Linked DNA regions of Homo sapiens: regions 2 and 3 are each linked to region 1. Evidence: promoter capture Hi-C in human tissues and cell types (Jung and others, 2019). All regions are on one chromosome and are shown on one strand. The core of a region is centred on a gene start or on the middle of the fragment in contact, and the rest is flanking DNA. Distances in the headings are between cores, read along the strand shown. Region 1 holds the start of DAAM2 (dishevelled associated activator of morphogenesis 2). Region 2 overlaps KIF6 (kinesin family member 6). Region 3 overlaps KIF6 (kinesin family member 6).

What was found. Contacts are between HindIII fragments. The study calls those that stand out against the background at their distance.
Region 2: a fragment that was not itself captured here is called in contact with the fragment with the promoter of DAAM2 in region 1 in 1 of the 25 tissues and cell types used here (hippocampus).
Region 3: a fragment that was not itself captured here is called in contact with the fragment with the promoter of DAAM2 in region 1 in 1 of the 25 tissues and cell types used here (hippocampus).

The regions. Positions count from the first base shown.
Region 1 is chr6:39,790,547-39,793,945 of GRCh38, forward strand. DAAM2 (dishevelled associated activator of morphogenesis 2) reads left to right here and starts at 1,830. Exons shown (of 25, transcript NM_001201427.2): 1 at 1,830-1,919. The HindIII fragment of the contact is 10,904 bases long and covers 1-3,399 here.
Region 2 is chr6:39,638,506-39,641,904 of GRCh38, forward strand. KIF6 (kinesin family member 6) reads right to left here. Exons shown (of 23, transcript NM_145027.6): 4 at 1,105-1,252. Among named protein-coding and RNA genes, the nearest start is that of KIF6, 85 kb to the right of the region's middle. The HindIII fragment of the contact is 5,196 bases long and covers 1-3,399 here.
Region 3 is chr6:39,659,805-39,663,203 of GRCh38, forward strand. All of the region lies in intron 3 of KIF6 (kinesin family member 6), which reads right to left. Among named protein-coding and RNA genes, the nearest start is that of KIF6, 64 kb to the right of the region's middle. The HindIII fragment of the contact is 4,187 bases long and covers 1-3,399 here.

The DNA.
Region 1 (3,399 bases), core at 580-3,079:
AATACAGGCGTGAGCCACCGCGCCTGGCCAAATCTGATCTTCTCTTAAAGAGAGTTTGTGGAAGGCATCCTCTGTCTTCTGTATTACAATCTCACTGGTCAGAACTTGGTCTCATAGCAATTGTGAGCTACCAGGGAGTCTGGGATGGTGAATATTGTAGATTTCTAACTTCTTTAGTTGAGAAAGGCAAGGGAGAATGGGTTTGTCAATGGCTTCTGGAAACCTATTTGCAGGGTCTGCTGAAGAACAGAGCTCACCTTGCCAGTGGAGCCTTGATATGAGAGAGGGAATGGAAGGAGGTAAAAGTGGGGTATTATGCCAGGGAGAGCAATCCCACAGTGACCAAACAGCAGCTCCCTGCTGCAGGGCCCTCGGTGGCTTGGGTCAAAACAGCGTGGCCTCTACCGAGAGGCCCAGCCCTAAGACAGCTCCTTCTGGCAATCAGCTCTAACCAGCTGCTGCCAAAGAGGTAAACACATTCCAAGTCCTTGAGTCCCTGCTGCACTGTAACTGTGGTTAAAACACAACCCCGCCTCTACCAGTTTGGGCTAATGGAAAGTTCACTATAGTTGTGTTTTAATGATGATTTGCAATTATCCGTGCCCCCTCCCATTCATGGTGAGATGAATACCTAAACACTTATGTTGTCTAACCATATAAGTATTTTGCATCTCACGTGTATCATTTTAAGTTCATTTCATTCTCCAATCCTTGGGAACCATGAAGGATAACACATTACATTCTCTTTTTTTTTTTTTTTTCCTCTGGAAGATCATGCATTACATTCTCTTTTTTTCTCTGGAAGGGTGGCCCTTAAACCAAGCCATTTCCCTAAGCCCCTTTGGTGAGGTGGAGAAACAGACAACCACTAACACAGAACAACCACTGAACACCCAGAAAACTGTATACAGGTCATCACCCAGTGGGGGCACCATTTGCTTGCAGAGGGAGCTGGGGAAAATAGGAAACAGAGAAGATCAAATACTCCCCGTGAGGGTGTTGCCAATCCCAGAGAGGACAATTGCTCTTGACCAAAGCAATCTCTAGTTCAGTCAAGGAGACAGACCACAATCACATTTAAAAAAAAAAGAAAAAAAAAAACTAAAAGGAAATTTTAAAAGTATGAATAAGAGCTATTGTAAACTGCTCAAACTATGCATACAAGCAATGAAGTAAGATGAATTGACTGGCACTGAATTGGAAAAGCTATACAGAGGCAGGGAGTGTGGAACATAATTTAATAAAAATAAACTTAAAAAAATATATATACACTCCCAAAAAAGAAATGGAAAAGTTGTTAGGGCGTGGACCAGGACTCCTAATTAGCTGTTCTGTTGTGCCTGATTTCGCTCCTGTCTTGCCCAGCACCCCTTGGGACACACTGTCCAGTGCAGGGACACTTTGGGGAGGGACAGGGGATTCCTTGGCACCGGGACCTTCACCTCCGAGCCGGCCTCAGACCAGGCCATTTGCCCGTAGCCCAGAGGAGGAGCCGGGGAGAAACCCGCTGCCCAGGTGGCCACTTTTGCCTCTTTGACCCTTCCATGTTTCCAAAACAGAAGGGGCCCTGAGAACGCTCCCTGCCAAAGTGGGGAACAGCTACCCTCATTGTACGCCTCGCCCTGCCGGTGGCGCTCTCCCCCCGCCTGCGTTCGGTCTGAAAGTGTGAAAATTACAAATCCCAAGAAACTGCAATCAGAAGTCTACCTAGGGAAAATTCAGAGTAACCTTGCCATAAATATCCCGCTCCAAGACGCCTGACGTCAGAGCGGGGCGGGCGGACGGGCGCGAGGCCGGGCCTGGAGGGGCGGCAGCCGCGGCTTCCCGGGGATAGCGCGGAGCACGCAGCAGCGAGCGGAGCGCGGGCGGCGGCGCCGTACCTCGGGCTGCGGGAGCGCGGGCGCCCTGGGGTCCTCGGAGTAAGTGCGGCCGGCCCTGGCGCTCCCCGTCTTGGGGCCCGGGCCGCGGGGAGCCCTCTCCGCTGGGCTCCCACACTTCTCTCCCTCTGCTTTCTTTAGCATGCCCCGCGGGGCTTGGGGAGGCAGCAGCTCCGCAGGCTGGCGGTTTTGTTTCTCCAAAGTGTTTGCAGGAGCCGCCGACCCCGGAGTGGGCTCCCAGGGCCTGTGTGTGTGTGAGTTGTGTGTGTGTATGAGTGTGATTGCGTGTGTCTGTACTGGCACATCTGGACATAGGAAATGTCTTTGGAAAACTTTTTAAAAATGTTTTTTGCGGCTTTGAAACCTGACCCCTGGTTGTCACAAGTGGACAAACACAGAAGATACCCCGCAAAACTGACAACTTTTTGGTGGTGGCTTTTCCGGGTTCGGCTTGAACCTTCACTTGGCTGGGCTGAAGTCTTCACAAGCCCCCAGCTCCCACTTGCAGGCCTGGCCTCTGGCCAGTGGGCAGGGCAGCCGTAAGGTTCTTGTTCTCAGTGGCAGTGGGACCCTGGGCGGGGGAAGGAGCATCTCAGGAAAGGGGTCCCCGGACTCTGGGGCTCTCAGCACCTGCGGTCGCAAACCAACCTCATGCCCTGACTTTACCAGGCGTCGGGACTCTGACTTAACCGGGGAATGAGGGACTTGGTCTGGCGGCAGGTAATTTTGTGAAGAGGATGAGAAGGAAGAGGGGGAGGTGGTGGTGATGGCCAGGACGCTGTGGCCCTGTGTCCAGCCGTAGCTTGGGAGTGGGATGGTTGGTTCTGCCACATGGCCACGGTGAGGTACGTGCCAGGTTCTCCAGGAGTGCCGCGTGTGGTGCCCCAAACAAGATGCAAGCTCCTAACATAAAGAGACGTGTCTGAGCTGTGGGGTGGAGGAAGGGGGGCGGTGGGGGAGAGGGAGATTTTTATCAAAATTGAACACAGATTGCTGAGATCTGGGCTTGATTTAACTCTTCTCTCTCTGCCTCGGCCACTTCTCCACAGTTTTGGAGTGGATTTGGAACGTTTCTCGGAGGGTTAGAGGAAAATCACACCTCTCCGGAAAAGAGTCCCCATAGGTTTTCCCTTGATGCCCACGTGGGAATGAAAGCAGCTTCCCATCTTTAAAAAGTTCAAAGTCTTGTGTTTTCCCCCTTCTGAGTTTGGTGTTAGTTTCCTGAGTTTCTTTGCAAAGCCAGCTGAAGCGGGGGATGGATTTTCCCTAGGGCCTAGGGCGGAAAGTGTGCTCCACGGAGAGTAGGGGAAAAAAGCAGCAGTGAGGCTGTATCGATCCATCATCCCTGAGTAGCACAGTGCCAGGCACTGCCTGTCAATAGCTGGGTTCCACAAACGAGTGACCACAGACAGACTGAATTTTCAGCTTTGAGCTAGCCAGGTCTCTGGTTTTGTATTTTGCAGTAGAGCCAACCTACAATGTCTGGGTGGGAGGAAGATTACTGGACTCTCCCTCTGTCCTA
Region 2 (3,399 bases), core at 611-3,110, 150 kb before region 1:
TACTCAATCCTTTCTCATCCAAATTTTCTGGCATGCAAAGCTGGCATGTTTGAGCTAGAGAAAGATGAGCTGAACTAATGGATAATTGCTACTTTATGGATGGCAATTAGAATTATGCAGATCTCAGCAATTTCTTCTCATCTTTGCAACTCAAAATGCAAACAATATACAGTCAAGAAATTTTGGAGTGACTGTTATATTGACCTAGTTAAGACATGTATTATACAGAAGTAATACAACCAAGGAATTGCTGGAACTAGTAGGGACACTGGAGATTCTCTAATACAATTCAATCTCTGCTTTCACAGAAGGGAAAACCGAAACTCAGAGAAGGTATGTGACTCATTACGGGGAATTTGTTTGAACATAACCAACAAAATAAAGCCAGTCCGAGGTATAGAAGCAATATACATAATGGCACAAAGCACAGAGTTAGACATCAGGTGGACTTGGGATAGAACTCTAGATCAGCTACTTACAGGATGTGGGCCCAGAGGAAAATATTTAACCTGAGGCTCAGTATTCCCAACTGTGAAATGGGAAGTTGCATTATATGTTATATCAAATACTGGTAAAACTGATAAAGCTACTGGCATTTTGAGGCACTCAATAAATGATACATATAATCTAGATAGATAACCCTTTTTTACAATGGTAATAATTACAACGGTATTTGTACTTTGGTAAATTCCTCTGGGCTTCTATCAAGTGTAAAATAGTAACAATTATACTATCCTGTTTAGTGTTTCAGTAGCTAAAAGAAAGATCTGCTTTGATAAGAAGACATTCCTCAGTTTCTTGAGGAATATAAGATATTAGTTGGTAAAAGGTGTTGTCTGCTCTTTCAACCTTCGTGCGTATATCAGAAGGAAATGTCCTTGAGCCTTTGCTGAAATAGCAGCCCTTTAATGAGAAGTACCTTCTTAATTTTCACTTGTACAGCAAAATCCCAACCTCTCCTTAAAGGTAAAGGCCAAAGTTATGACACAATAAGACTTTATCATTTAGACACAATAAAATACATGTCATAATAAATTTCCTGCTTTCAGTATATTTTTGCTGAATATATCAAATACAAAATGATATGAACGAAAAGTTTCATACCTTTTGTAACTGTTCAAAAATGTATGACAGTGTCCTTGGGATAATGCCTCTGTCACTGTAACGCTCTGCACCCCCTGTGATAGTGAATGTCTTCCCGCTGCCTGTTTGCCCATATGCAAAGATGGTACCATTGTAACCTGCCAGGACACTGCAATAAAGAAATGACACACTTTCAATATCAACATGGCTAACTGCATATGAATTAAATGGCTTGTATTCTAATAACAATCTTATTAAACACTATTAAAAAAACTTTATAGAAATATCTATTAAAAATTTATATATGTGAATATCTAGCTAGAATTTACATTTTTATCTAGGAACAGCAGCACATCAATCCTGTTCTCTAAGAAAGGATGTGCAACACAAATGGAGTTCAGTCATCTTAAATATATTCTTCATCTTTTAGTACACACTGGACTTGAATCAAAGAATATATTGAAAAAAAGTTCTGGGGAAACAATACCTGTAATTTGGCAAACTGTCAACCTGACACCTGGTACCTCACATGGTGTAAACACTCACAATAGTAGTTACTTCCTAGAACAGGAGGAACACACTCTGCTTGCCACCATATACCTTGCAATGTAATTCCCTACTTAATACTAAGCACCAACTGAAAATCCTCTAGGAATTCCCCTCTTCTCTTTTCTTGGAATGACTTTTTGGTAGAAGATGCTAGTCCATATATATTCTTCAGCCCTGCAGAGCGGCCCTTGATTTGATGGTGGTCTTAAGAACCCAAAGGCTGGATCTTCTCAGCCTTTGAAGAGCACCACCTGTAATATAAGCTTTTATAAATATGCATGAAATGATGTAGACTTTCAAAACTGTGTCTTTAATCTATGCTACATGGAACAGTAAACTTTTGTAGCTTTATGTTCGTTTTTTGATACAAGTGGCTCCTTGATCTCTGAGATGTTTTCATTAAACTAGCTACGATGACATCAGCTATTGGTCCCCATGTTGTGGGTGGATTTTTTGATAGATGGCTCCTCTGAGTTCACCCCTCACTGTTCATATTAGAATTCCTCCCTATTAGTTCTGTCAACATCCTATCTACAGTTCTATGTTTCATATGCTTTCATGCCTGTGTGTTGAGTGATCTGTCATTATAAGGGTCTCCTAAAACACACAGGTTTGACTGGAGATTATTCTGAAGTGGTCACTTATGACCACCTTATGCAACTATTAAACTTATGACCACCTTATGCAACTATTAAACTAACAATAATATCTTCAGCAACACGTCAATGCATCTGTTGCTGTGTAGGTAGAAAGTGTTGTTGGTGCTTACAAATTTAATGGACTTAGTACAGGGAATGCGCAAGAAAGTATTGTAACTGTGTGATTCAATGTTCTACTTTTGAGGAGTGTAATCACTTTTCTTCGTGTGTCTTTACATGGAGACAATATACTGTTGAAATTCTCAATTTCTAAGATGTTGGAACTATGACAAAATTAGATATATAATTACAGAATCTTTTTCCTCAACAGAATTTGTTACCAATGAAACATTGATGTCCCATTAGCAATATCATTTGGATATATGATATTTCTTGGCCATAAATGCTGTAGGTAAATGAAGTCTAAAATTTCAAATATCTAATCTTAAACATTTTATTGATTCTTGATAGAAAGAATAGATGTAAAATATTCTAGGCATTATCTGTCTTGAAAAACACCATGGAATACTCTGCAGCCATAAAAATTGATGAGTTCATGTCCTTTGTAGGGACATGGATGAAGCTGGAAACCATCATTCTCAGCAAACTATCGCAAGGGCAAAAAACTAAACACCACATGTCCTCACTCATAGGTGGGAATTGAACATGAGAACACATGGACACAGGAAGGGGAACATCACACACCGGGGACTGTTGTGAGGTGGGGGGACGGGGGAGGGATAGCATTAGGAGATATACCTAATGTTAAATAACGAGTTAATGGGTGCAGCACACCAACATGGCACATGTATACAAATGTAACTAACCTGCACGTTGTGCACATGTACCCTAAAACTTAAAGTATAATATATATAAAAAAAAGCCACTGCCAAGGAAACAAAAAAAAAAGGAAAAAACTACAGAGCACAAATTAATATTTTCATTTTGATATAGATATAGACTACGAAAAGTGAGTAGGTAGTACACTACGTTGGCATCTGCTAAGTGTTATGTCTACTTTTTTATGCTAAAATCTTCTTTCTCACTGCCAGTTGTCCTAGTATGTCTGTCTTTAATATGTGCTCCCCCTACCCCCATCTACTGTGGGATGGAAAACCAGATGACATAG
Region 3 (3,399 bases), core at 637-3,136, 130 kb before region 1:
TTTGTGTATTTCTTCACAGCAGTGTGAGAATGGACTAATACATCAAGTCATGGTTGATCAGCACAACAAATCTGAATCAGTAAAATTTCACTTTGAATGATTTACTTAGCCTCAAAGAAATGGCTTAAATTTGGCCATGCTGAGAACTGGCCAACCTAGCCATATTAAATTTATCCATAAGTTTATATATGTAGTATAATATGTTTCATTAAAATCTCCAATCTGGCCTGGCATGGTGTCTCATGCCTGTAATCCCAGCACTTGGGGAGGCCGAGGCAGTAGGATTGCTTGAGCTCAGGAGTTTGAAACCAGCCTGGGCAACAGAGTGAGACCCTGTCTCTAAAATAATTTTTAAAAATTTCCAATAAAAAATGTGTTGAAGTTGTATTATTTATTCCCTCAAGCATCTATTTCTTCATGCATTCATAGCAAAAGACATTTATGGTGCCCCTTTTTCCACAGCAATGTTCTAGGTACAATATAATGGATGCATGTAAAATTCATGTGCTGTCACAGTTCATACGGAGTATACAAGCTAGTGTATACTTGGGTGGGAAGTCCTAAGCACAGAATCTTTCTCAACCGCTTGAGGTATCATCAAATCATCTCAGCATAGTGGGTGAGTAACTACCTATGGGGGTATAAGCTGTCTAGTTGTGTTGTCAATGTCCCTTCGGAGGTTTTGAAGTTATAGCTTGCTAAGTTCAGATACATAAAATGCTCACACAATCTTGTCAATGAAGCTTTCCTTCAACAGCAGAAATCCTCTACCTTTTTTTTCTGGGTCATCCAAAACAGTCTTTCAAAAGCTAAATTTTTTTTTGAGCTAAGGAGCCCCAATATTCAATTTATTCGATTCAGTGAGATGAATGTTGTCAGTCTAAGCACAGTCAGCACTGTGCCCCTCATAAAAAACTTTACAGCAACTTCAAAATACTAACATGAGTGTGAAATAACAAAATAGATTAATGTGATCCAGAAGCGTCCATTTTCTTTCTAAATAAATCAAAAGTTAAAATATAATTATTCTGGTCAACAAAGCCATTATGGATTATTCCATAATTATATCAAGTTTTCTAAGGCAAGTAATAGTTTCCTTTTCACTGCCTGTGAGTCCCCATGAAATCACCTTGCAGTGCTTCACACAAAAATCTGGTGCTTACATGTTTGTTTATTGCACTGCTGCTTTTTCCCTGAGAGCTGCAAAATCCAAATTGGTCTTACTTCCATAAGACCATAATTATTGCACTATGGAATCAATCACTCTGAAAAGCTGATACTGTTTCAAAATGAACCTACTCACAGTGACTATAACTCACAACCAGGCTGAAAAGACACATCAAATTCTGCTATTTTAAAAGCAATTTTTACTCTACAATTATGCATTGATAAAATATTTGATAATAATAATTTTTTAAATGGTTAGGCTCAATTCTTCACCAAGATTCACTTCTATTTTTCTGATTTTATTGCCACACTAATCCTTTGATTTGCATTTCTCATAATTATTTTTATTTAACTGATTATAGAAATAGTATATGTTCTTTGTCAAAAACACATCATGTCATACAGCACAAAGTTAAGTACTCCATAATGTTCCACAAAGATAACCCAGGTTAACATATGCTATGTACACTTTTAGATTTTTTTCTGTGTCTATTGCCTATGTGTAAAGAATTCATTCTTTTTTTCTCTCTCTCTCCCTTAACTCATTCTCTTCCTGGGGACCAACTTTCCTCTACCCCAAGAATGTAAGCATCCCATTCTACCTATGGTAGTAAAACTGAGAGGAAATAAAAATCAAACATCAGAAAAGGAGTTAAAAGGGCATGCAGTAGCGGGGAAAGAAGTAGGGCCATAGCAGAAAAGAGAGGTACAAGAAGGAACAGAGCCTTGGGAGCTAATAAGGAGTACCCTGGGAGAACAAAATAAAGGCCCTTTCCGTGAAAAGCCGTTGAAGAGTTACACAGAACAAAAGGGTCACTACCAGATGGATACCTTCTAACCTCCCTCAATCCTTCTCCACTTAGCAACCAGGAGCCATCTTTGAAAAATACAAATCAGGTCAGTCTCTGACCAATAATTCATCATACTGATATTCTGATTTTTCAACCTGGTATACTCAGCCATCCATGGATGGTAAAACTGCTTACTTTAATTGTACTGGAGACCTTGGCACCCCAGGAAAGTTTAAATAATTAAGAATAGAGATAAAGTAAATCAAACCCATACTCTTAATAACATTATAGAATATATTTAAGTGTACTTTTCATATCATTGGGCCATTCTAGTTGTTTTATTTAAAGAGTTTGAAATACTTAAAAATATTATGACTTTAATTTAAAACATATAATCAATTCCAGATTTGGGATATTAAGTGGTGTAAGTACATTTGATTCAATTTTGGAAATAGCATTAAAATGTTAAGAGAGGCTGATTTACTATGGGTATATGTTTGCTTACTATTTTTTAAGTTGCTATGTGCTTAAAATGATTTGTTAGGTTTGTAAGTCTGCCCCACAAGGCATTTGAGGTGTTTGAGACAGTCACATACATTACATGTGTAAATGAGGTTTAAAATGTTTAAGGGAATTTAATTAGCTAAATTAGAATTGTAATTAATTGTTTAGGAAAATTTCAACTGTTAAATTTGAATTAATCAAATGTTAATAGGGTAACAAATGAAAGAGACTATTCTTATATAATAACTAAATGTAAAAATAGTCTCATAAGATTTGTAGGTTGAAGTAGGTGTTTGAACACACAGCTTTTATAGAGACAATATCAATTCGAAACCCAATGTAAGAAGTCCTTTTAAAGATTTATCTGGAGGCTAAGGCAGAAGGATTGCTTGAGTACAGGAGTTTGAGAACAACCTGGGCAATATACTGAGCCCCTATCTCAAAAAAAATTATCTTGAATAATAAAATACTCAAACTGAAAACAAGATCCACAAAAGCAAGGTGTTTCTCTGCCTGGCGTACCCCAATGTCTTCAGAGCCAAAAATTGTCTGCACACACACATAGTCAAAAATACGCGTCCACATGGAGTTGTTTATTCAACTTCAGCTTAGTATCTTTTTTTCTTTTCTTCTTTTCTCTCTCTCTTTTTTTTTTTTATAGGGTCTTGCCCAGGCTGGAGTGCAGTGGCACCATCATGGCTCACTGCAGCCTCAACCTCACAGACTCAATTGATCCTCCCACTTCAGCCTCCTAGTAGCTGGGACTACAGGTGCACACCGCCATGCCTGGCTAGTTTTTGTATTTTTGGTAGAGATGGGGTTTTGCCATGTTGCCCAAGCTAGTCTCAAACTCTTGGACTCAAGTGATCCACTGGCCTCGTCCTCCCAAAGTGTGCCTGGTGGAACTTGCTATCTTTCTGAAGATCAAATTAGAGCA